Linked DNA regions of Homo sapiens: all the other regions are linked to region 2. Evidence: promoter capture Hi-C in 16 types of primary human blood cells and fetal thymus (Javierre and others, 2016). All regions are on one chromosome and are shown on one strand. Each heading gives the region's core, a stretch centred on a gene start or on the middle of the fragment in contact. The rest is flanking DNA. Distances are from core to core; before and after follow the strand shown. Region 1 overlaps BUD13 (BUD13 spliceosome associated protein). Region 2 holds the start of SIK3 (SIK family kinase 3). Region 3 has its middle 53 kb from the start of BUD13.

Region 1 (3,481 bases), core at 955-3,454, 340 kb before region 2:
TTCCAGTGAGCCAAGATCGTGCCATTTTGCACTCCAGCCTGAGCAACAAGAGCGAAATTCCGTCTCAAAAAAAAAAGAAGGGAAGCTTATTATAAATGGCATCCTCTCCAACCTTAGAAGCATGGATGGTATTCCAAAGCACCAAGGAAACCACTGTTTTTTACCTTGGAAATAAGGTCTTAAGAGAGTTACACTAATATGATAATACAAAGGACATATGAATAACAAACACCAAATCCTAAGCAGAATCAGAAAACAAATTGCAGGAGAACTCACAGTGGAAAGAGCTTTGGACCAGAGAATCAGGAACGCAGAGTTCTAATTCCAGCTTTCTCAGGGAAATTGCATGACTCTAGGCAAACTGCTTATTTATTGGGCCTCAGTTTCTCTTTTTTTTGAGACGGAGTCTTGCTCTGTTGCCCAGGCTGGAGTGCAGTGGCACGATCTCGGCTCACTGCAAGCTCCGCTTCCCGGGTTCACGCCATTCTCCTGCCTCAGCCTTCCGAGCAGCTGGGACTACAGGCGCCCGCCACCACGCCCAGCTAATTTTTTGTATTTTTTTTAGTAGAGACGAGGTTTCACCATGTTAGCCAGGATGGTCTCAATCTCCTGACCTCGTGATCTGCCCGCCTCGGCCTCCCAAAGTGCTGAGATTATAGGCATGAGCCACCGCACCCGGCCCCGTTTCTCTTTCAATTAAGAGAGGCTGGGTAATTATCTTATGGGTTTTTCCAACAGATACTATATATCTGTTCCGGAAATATTCCCTTGCAGCAGGCCGAAAAGAGACAAAACTAGAAAAGATGATGAAAGATGAATAACAAAAAGAAAGCAAGGGTGACAAAGGGAAATAAGAGAAGAAATCTAGGATAAAATCAGAACAAGAAGTGGAAAAAAGCAACTGAGAAAAATGAAGACAAATTAAATACTAGTAAAAAAAAACTAGGTCAGGGAGAATTCTAAGTTTTGGGTCCAAAAATTAAAAAACAAAAAACAAAAACTCGGTAGCAGGGAACATCTGTAGGGTTGTGCTATAAAAAGATCTACTTCTGGCTGTATGTATGGCAAATGAGTGTTCTGAAAAATCCTCCTTCTACCAAAAAGCCTACATACAGTGAACTGCAAACGGAACTAGTAAGCTAGCCTGTAACCACAGCTACCCTAAAGATATCTGCCAAGATGAGGAACTACAGTCAACTTATAGATATCTGCCAATATCAGAAAGAAGAGCCTTAAATTTTTTTATTCTGGAGTTGGGGTCTCACTATGTTGCCTAGCCTGGACTTAAACTCCTGGGTTCAAGCGATCTTCCTGCCTCAGCCTCCCAAATAGCTGGTACTACAGACACACGCCACCACACCTGGCTGTTGGATTTTGACGGCACCCCGAGGGACAGAAGACAACGCCTTAGGCCCATATAAGGTGGGGAGACAGATTCTAGACATTGCAGAGTAACCCGAACAGACTAACCTATCCTCAGTTAGCAACTATAAAACCTAGACAAAACAAAAAAAATAGGTATTTGAAGGTGTGGAAGAGTGACCAAAAGTAAGTATGAACTGGATGAAGTCTATATGTGAAAAGAGATTTGCTGGAGGGCAACTTCCCAAACAGCATGGCTCATGAAGGCAGAAAGCCACAGGCTTACTGGCTTGAGGAATTAGTGCAAAGTGGGCAGAACAGCTAGGAAATTAGGGGGGAAATCTTGGAAGAGAAGGAACTACAAAAGAGATGAACCTCAAAATCTACATACAAACCCTAGTCAAATCCTTGGCTAACTGTTAAATGACACATGTGCAGAGAAAATACCATCAGGCCAATTAAAAAAATGGCAGCTAGAAACTAAAAGAACTGAGCAAAGATTGTAGCTGCCGTCCACTGCAAAGGAGACAGTTTGGAGTTCAGCTATGTTAACTACCTGCTAGAATAAAAACTAACACACTTAAGAGGAATACAGTGTAACAGAACTCAAAGTCTCTACAGTGTATCATTCATGATGCGTAGTAACAATTTTAAAAAGTGACCAGACAGGTAAATAAACAGGAAAATGTAATACACACTGAAGAAAAAGCTGTCAATAGAAACCAATCCTGTGGTGAATCCAATGTTGCAATTAGCAGACAGGACTTCAAAGCACTAATTACATATCATAAATATTTTCAAGAAGAGGAAAATGTCTCATAATGAACAGATGGGAAATCTCAGCAGAGAAATGTAAGCTATTAAATGGAAATTTTAGAGTTGAAAAACAAAATAAACCAGCTAAAACAAAAAATCCACAATTGATAGTAACTGATAGAAAAATACAAACACAAAAAACCCAGAATACAGGCGATCTAAGATCTAAACACCTTGACCTCACTGACTTTTATAAAACACTACCTTATATAGCTACAGAATATACGTTCTCTTCAAGTGCAAAGGAAACATTCAGAAGATAGACTATCCACTGGGCCATAAAACACACCTTAACAAATTTCATTTTTATTATTGTTTTTTGATACATGGTCTCACTCTGTCATCCAGGCTGGAGTGCAGTGGTGCAATCACAGCACATTGCAGCCTCGACCTCCCTGGGCTCAGTGATCCTCCCACCTCAGCCTCCACAGTAGCTGGGACTATAGGCGTGTGCCACCATGCCCGACTAATTTTTGTATTTTTTTGTAGAGACAGGGTTTTGCCATGTTGCCCAGGCTGGTCTCAAACTCCTAGGCTCAAGCAATCCGTCTGCCTTGGGCTCCCAAAATGTTGGGATTACAGGCATGAGCCACTGTGCCTGGCCAACAAATTTCAAAAGATCAAAATATTACAGTATATTATCTGACCAAAATGGAATTAAATTATAAGTAAATAGCAGTAAGATATCTAGAAAAGTCCAAATATTTGGAATTAATGCACTCCTAAATAACCCATGGAGCAAAGAATAAACCAAAAGGATAATTAGAAAATATTTTGAACAAAATCCAACATACATTCCTGAAAACAAAACTCTCAGCAAAACAGGAATAGAAGGGAACTTTAACTCCATAAAGGATATCTACAAAAAACCTATACAGCTACAACACATTTAATAAATGTGTTGTAAAAACTAAATGTTTTCTTCCTGAGATTAGGAACAAAGCAAAGATGTCTGCTCTCACTACTTCTATTCAACATCTGCACTGAAGTGCTAGCTAATGCAACAGGGCAAGGAAAAGAAACAAAAAGCATCTAGATTGTAAAGTAAGAAATTAAACTGTATGCAAAGATGGAAGACCCTCTAGGTACAAAATCTGATGGAATCTATAAAAAGCTATTGTACAAAGTGAGCTTTACCTGAAGGAAAACAACTGACAATACAGTGTAACAGAACTCAAAGTCTCTACAGTATATCATTCATGATGTCCAGTAACAATTTAAAAAAGTGACCAGACAGGTAAATAAACAGGAAAATGTAATACACACTGAAGAAAAAGCTGCCAATATAGAAACCAATCCTGTG
Region 2 (3,522 bases), core at 855-3,354:
GACTATCCCCCAGAGGTCAGAGCAAAATAACCACAGGAGCACAAAGTGATTACACAGAAAATAGGCAGAAAAAAAGGAAAGAAATAGCAAAACAAGGAACAAGGCATATTGTTTGTAAATGTAAGTTTGCCTTGGCTAATAGTCAACTAGACTGGAAACACGGTGAGGGGCTGGGGTGGCAAGTGAGGAGCACACCAAAGTCTTGGCTCAATCGACTTCCCCTGACTTCCCCTCAGGGTCTGAGGGAGCCCTGGACTTTGGTATCTCATTCAGCTCTGACCTGCAGACTGGAGGCCCTGTGATAAAAACGGACAAAAAGGCTGAAGAGGGCCCTCCAGAGGAAGTGAAACTGACCAATCAATTCGCCACAGCCACCCACCCTGACACCCTGGTAAGAAGGGCCCCTTGTAGCCTCAGGCAGAAAGATGGTGGGGAAGGAACTTCAGGTTGCAAGTGATCAGGAGAGAAGGCCTAGATAAGTCACTGGCTTCAGAAAACAAGCCACTGCCAAAAAAGCAAAAACAAGGTAGGTCATGACAACCAGAGGCTAGGCTGAGGAGGTGAGGGGAATTGATGTGGCTTTGGTAGGAGGCGGCAGCAGCTGTAAGGGTTCTTCATTCCTCAGGCTGAGGGAAAACACAAGCTGCAGTTCTAAACATAATGAATGACTACATTAAAAGTATTCATTCAAGTAAGATATTGAGCAAAGAAAATTTTAGAGTAAAAATGGGCTTTGCGGGTTCCACCAAAACCAAAAGATTCCTCCTGATGTCTTAGATTCCAGTCCTCCCAACGAAGGCTACATGAAAGTGCTACCATATTTCCTCAAAGAATTTTACATGCATACATATATAGCTTCCTAATTGACCTTGGCCAATTTCACTCCTATAGCGCCTCAAATCCCTTTGAGAACTAAGGGCTCGATGAGTGTAATCTCCCGGTGTCTGGGTTCTTCAATCACAAGCTTCCCCCCAACCAGTAAAAGCCCACCCTGGGTTCTACAAAGCCCACAATTCCCGACCCTCCAACAACTAAAAATAACCAGCAATCAGCTCTCCCAAATTGTTTAACCCCTGACTACCTAGTGCCATCATAAACCTGGGACAGCCCCCACCCCCACCTCACTCCCCCATTCCCTGGGCCCCTTCCTGTGGACAAGCAAAGCAATTTCCCCCTTATTTCCCCATTTTCCTCATTGCCTCCTCCACTAATCGTGTCTCCTCGGGATCCCCTTCGCACCATCTATCAGTCTTAGATGATCAAATGCGGATTCCTGTCTCTGTCTTAAGGCACCAGGATCCTGGGACCTCCCAGCGCCCTGCAGACGTGCACATTCCCAGTCCGTGCCCCAGCCGTCCTGGGTCCCCTTACAAGCCCGGGTCTGCCACTTCACCCTTGTTTTTCCCCATCCTCCGGGTCCACATTTCATATGCCCCTGCCCTCATTCCCTTATGATTCCCTAGCTGCTGGTTCCAGAGTCTTCTGGGCTTACAGTCTCCCGGCCCTCGGGGAGTTCCGACCCCTTCTTTCCAATCATCCCCTTTACCCGCCTGCCCTCAGCCCCGAGGACCCCTCCCCGCGCCCGGCTCCTGGGCGCCGGTGCTCTGTGCCCTCGGCCCCCTGCTTGGAGTTCCGCCGTCTCGAGTCCCAGGTGTCCCTAGCTCCGCGCCCGCCCCGCCGCGGCTGGCTCCCTCCCGCCTCCCGGCCCCCAACGCTCCCACCACGCGCCGCGCTCGCCGCCCCGACCCCCCGGCTGGGGGGCGCGGACCTCTCCCGGCCCCGCCACGCTCCGACTGCCGCCTGGCCCCTGCGCCGGTACCTTGGCCTTGGTGACGAGGTGCGTGGCCCGCTTGACCACCGCGAAGTTGCCCTTGCCGATGGTGCGGTCGATCTCGTAGTAGCCGATACGGGCGGGCATGGGTCCGCGGGAGGCCGGGGCTGGGGGACGCGGCTGGCCGGCCGCAGGGGACACGGCAGCGGGGGCGGCTGGGGACCCCGGCGCGGGCGGAGGCAGCAGGCGGCCCGCGGGCCCGGCTCCCCCAGTCCCGGCCCCGGCAGCCCCGCCAGCTCCGCTCGCCGCCGCCGCCGCCATCTTGTTGTGCAGTGAAACCTCCGGGGCCGCGGGGAGCCGGCTCGGGGGAGGGGGCAAGGGGGGGCGGGAAAGGGGGGGCCGCGGACGTCACTCGGGGAGGCGGGGCGCTTTCGCCGACCGGCGCCCGGCTCCATGGCAACCGCGGGTCACGTGCCGACGCGCGTCACTGCCCGGAGCCATGGCAACCGTGACCTCACCGGCGGGCTCGACCTTCCCGCGTGGGCCCCGGTTCCTGAGGCGCTGGCTCCCGGGTGCCCCCCTCCGGGAGCTGGCGGTGGGAACCTTCGATGGGCCCCCAACCTCGAAGTCTCCGCCACCTTTCCCGAGTGGGGGGCGCAGGATGCCCGACCCAAAGCCAACCCCCCACCGCCGCTCGAATCGCCAATGTGACCTCTGCTGTGACCTCTGTCCCAGTTCAACGATCACCCAACCTCCCTTAACAAAAAAAAAGTGTTTCCTCATCACCAAAAATACCAGCGTTGTCCCACTTTAGCCCTTGAGGCCACAAATGCAGGAATAGCTACACTCTTGAAGCAACTGTAACCAAGTTGGTAACAACGCAGGGGAATTCTTCGGTAAAATTCCTTCCTCTTACAAAATCCAGCTCACCCTGCACAGTCAACCTAATTGTCACCGAATATAGGAGAATGGGGAAACTAGGATTTGCGTGTTCAAGGGCGGACAAGCCAGTCCAAACAGGCATTCCAGTCATTGGGTGGGTGACAGCCAAAGAAGGTACGTCATTTTCCTTCCTACCACCCCCATCTCTGAACAATTCTACAGGGATGTCTGTCAGAGTGCCTACATACTATTTCTGTTGCTTGTATAACCCTGATGAAGCAGTGGTGCGCATTGTCCAATGAACCACGTCGTGTTTAAACAACAGTCGGTTAAGCAAAATAAATAAGTAAATAATAAAAATTCCATCCTTCCTAGTGACTCTCCGAGGACATTGAGGGTCATCAAGTTAATAACTCCAGCAATTTCATATCTCTTTTTCTTCCCTTGCCTATTACCTGCATCCTTCATAGCTCCCAGGCTTCCTCCTCCTCTCTCCCCTTCCCTTTATTAAATAGATTAACTTAGCTGCTTTAGGTGAGGGTTGCAGGTAGGAAATCAGACTGTCAACAAAATAGTCTTTGGCAGGCTGGGTGGAAAGGAGGGAAGATTGTGAATATTCCAATGTTAAAATGTATTCCTTTGGACTAGTCCTGATCCATCCATATCTATGTCTCTCTCAATGGTAGAACTGTATTGTGAGGTCACTGCATGCACAGTATTAAAAACTGACACCCAGGGCACTGTAAATGTGTGGAAGGATAACTCGTGTTTACTCGCTGACCAAAGAACACCTCCTGGTGCTCCAATTCCCTATCCAACCATGAGTAATGGCTGGGACTTAAGATGGGACAGAGGGGTCATCCCACAAT
Region 3 (3,082 bases), core at 56-2,555, 380 kb before region 2:
AGCAAGGCATGAACCAAGCGCTGTGGGCATTTAGGGAAAGAAGGTATTGCTTCCAGCTAGTGGATAGGGCAGATTTGGTGGAGGAGGCTTCTTCTCTGGTCTGGAAGGACAGGTGAAATGTGGTGATGAAGAAGGTAGGGCATTCCACAGAGGCAACAGCCCACACTGAGATCTGGAGATGAGAATACTAAGAAGGCGGGGAGAGTACCTCCCCTGAATCTGGAGAAGGAAGGCAGCAGTTGGAAGGGTCCTCTCTTCTGGGCCATCCGCTTCCTCCTCCACTACCATATAGCTCTACCCTCTCCACTGTGTGTTCATGGGTGATGTTAGGTGGGCACAGCCAAGGGATGGCATGGAAGAGGGGTTATCTCAGGGCCTGTCCTAGAGAAGCTTGGGCCTAGGACACCCTCAACAGGACCATACATGTACCACCCCCGTTCTGCCACCTCCCTTTATCTGCCTCTCCAGCTTGGCCAAGGTTCAGTGGTGCTAATTAGCAGCAGTTAGCTCAGCTCCCCCATCCGGCCCCTCCGCCAGGGCAGGGACGTGACTGATCACTGAGGTTTCCTTTCTCTCCTGCAGGGAAGACACAGCAGGAAGCTAGAGGCAGGGGGCAAGAGGAAGGAGAAGCAGCTCCAGGAGTTAGCTGAGGTGGATAATAGAGAGGGAATGGACTTTGTTTGGACTAAACATTGTCATAGGCTTAAAGAGCTGAAGGCTTCTCTAGCTCCTGCTTGGGCAGGACTTCTGATAATAAGAACTCCTAGCAAGAAAGTGCTTGTAAAACCCCTCTCCTACACTGTCTCATTAGTTTAGTCCCCAAACAGCCATAGAAGACAGGCATTATCATTATATTATCATTATTATTGTTATTATTACTTAATGTCTTTCTTCCTTGGTCAATCTAAGATCCACAAGGGGCAGGGATCATGTCAACCTTGTCACGCTGTGTATCCTCAGTGCCACATACCGTGCCCAGCATAGAGGTGACATTCAATAAATAGTTGCTGGGTGGGTGGGTGGATGGATGGAAGGATGGATAGATGGAATAATGGATGGACAGAAAGGCAGGTGGATGAAGGATAAATTATCCCATTTTACAAATTAAGAAACTAAGGACCAGAGAGAAAAAGTGACTTACCCAAGACTAATCAGACAGCGAGTGACAGAGCAGCACCCAGTCCCAGTTCACAGCCTCCCCATCGGGCCTGCTCGCAATACTCAAACTGTCTCTCTTCTTTGATTTCTTGAACACAATCCACCAAGAAAGGTCCACCCTTCTGAAGATCTGATTCTCATCCTTCTTCCAGCAGCTGGTCAGAAGCCAAGCTCCTGCCAACTCGGCTCCCATAAAAAGAGCAGGATCCCGAGAGCCTAGTGACCAGGGACTAGAGACACAGAGGCCCTTTCTGATCACTGGTCTGGAAGAATCTGGCTGCCAACTGGTGAGGTAAAGGTAGACAGCGACAGCCAGAGTGCAAGTGCCCATGGAAGAGCTGGCACCGACGGCCCTGTGTGAGCAGCACAGCACTAGGAATCACACAGATGCCAGTTCAAAGCCCCAGCACTTGCCCTTCCACAAGCACCTGCCTCTGCAACGTCTTCCCTTCTTTCCTCCACCTCCATGCCCCTCACTCCCAACTTCTCCAAGCCCAGTCTCCTTATTGATAGCATGGAGTCATGACGGCTCTCACACACATTCCTCTGAAGGTTGAATTCGAGGAGGTGATGGGTCCTTTCACACCCAAGTCTGGTGATTTTCTCACAGCAGCCTCCCTGCCCCACCTCCTGACCCCGCCCACCACCCTAAGGGATGGAAGTTCTTCGTGCCTGGTTCTGTTCCTACCTCTGCCCCCAGTGCCACATCAGAGCCCTCTCCCCTTTGGCTCTGTGTTCTGAGGCAGCAGCCTGCTTACCTTCGCAGTCCCAGGATCAGTCCTCCGTCTCCAGACAAAACCTCTCCCACAGAGGGTTCTGTCTTCCTAGGAGGCCCCCTCAGATTTCCCACATAGACCCTGGGCGGGCCATCTGGCTCCCACTGTCCCTGTTGCCCTCTCTTCCTGTCTGGTTTTTCTAAAGCCCACATGTCTTTGCCCGGACCGGGCAGGAATCCTCTACCTCAGGCCCAGGAGCCCAAAGCAGGCCTCATTGCATTGGGGTTTGGAGGCGCACCTGCACATTTTCCAGGAAAGGGATCTGTAGCTAGAGGGAACCTCCCTAGAAAGCTTGAGCTTCACTGCCTGGAGACCCCCTCCCACCTTCCACTCTGCCATGAAAGACAGCTCAGGTTTCATCCACTGTAACTCAGTGTGAATTTTGCCCTTTCAGGTGCCCTGTTAACATGATTCCTCCCACCTGGCCTGACACCTATGTGGATTTCAAGGGCATAAGGCTCTGCCACTTAAATCGCCTCAACACCCCTGTCCCTTCCCCCGACTGTGGTCCTCAGCACAGGACATGGCCTTACTGCTCCACCACGTGCTTAGTATTCAAGCCATGCGCTGCCACCATGCTTCCCACCATGTCTCCTCCAAAGCAGAGCCTTCCGCGGTGTGCCCTGCAAGGTCCTAGTGGGTATCCTTGATGAGAACTAGATTCTGTACACAGTGGATGCTGCATCAATACTGTGGCCACTTAGAGGTTAGAGGGTGTATTAGTCAGGGTTCTCTAGAGGGACAGACCTAATGGAATAGATATATATATAAAGGAGAGTTTGAGTATTAACATATTAACTCACATGATCACAAGGTCCCACAATAGGCCATCTGAAGGCTGAGGAGCAAGGAGAGCCAGTCCGAGTTCCAAAACTGAAGAACATGGAGTCCAGTGTTCGAGGGCAGGAAGCATCCAGCACGGCAGAAAGATGTAGGCCAGGGGGCTAGGCCAGTCTCTCTTTTCACATTTTTCTGCCTGCTTATATTCTAGTTGCACTGGCAGCTGATTAGATGCTGATTAGATGCCCACCCAGATGAAGGGTGGGTCTGCCTTTCCCAGCCCACTGACTCAAATGTTAATCTCCTTTGGCAACACAGTTACAAACACACGCAGGATCAATACTTTGTATCCTTCAAGCCAATCAAGT

Evidence for each region. The method cuts DNA at HindIII sites, captures the fragments that hold promoters and counts their contacts. A CHiCAGO score of 5 or more calls a contact.
Region 1: a fragment that was not itself captured here is called in contact with the fragment with the promoter of SIK3 in region 2 in 16 of 17 cell types (naive CD8 T cells, total CD8 T cells, fetal thymus and 13 more); the score reaches 15.4 in naive CD8 T cells.
Region 3: a contact is called between a fragment that was not itself captured here and the fragment with the promoter of SIK3 in region 2, in 1 of 17 cell types (erythroblasts). The highest score is 5.9, in erythroblasts.

What each region holds. Positions count from the first base shown.
Region 1 is chr11:116,751,565-116,755,045 of GRCh38, forward strand. All of the region lies in intron 9 of BUD13 (BUD13 spliceosome associated protein), which reads right to left. Among named protein-coding and RNA genes, the nearest start is that of BUD13, 20 kb to the right of the region's middle. The HindIII fragment of the contact is 4,243 bases long and covers 84-3,481 here.
Region 2 is chr11:117,096,324-117,099,845 of GRCh38, forward strand. It overlaps SIK3 (SIK family kinase 3), which reads right to left and starts at 2,105. Exons shown (of 25, transcript NM_001366686.3): 1 at 1,820-2,105. The coding sequence starts at 2,092. RefSeq lists an enhancer at 613-662 and silencers at 1,984-2,033, 2,114-2,293. The HindIII fragment of the contact is 6,059 bases long and covers 963-3,522 here.
Region 3 is chr11:116,718,606-116,721,687 of GRCh38, forward strand. No RefSeq gene overlaps it. Among named protein-coding and RNA genes, the nearest start is that of BUD13, 53 kb to the right of the region's middle. The HindIII fragment of the contact is 1,835 bases long and covers 389-2,223 here.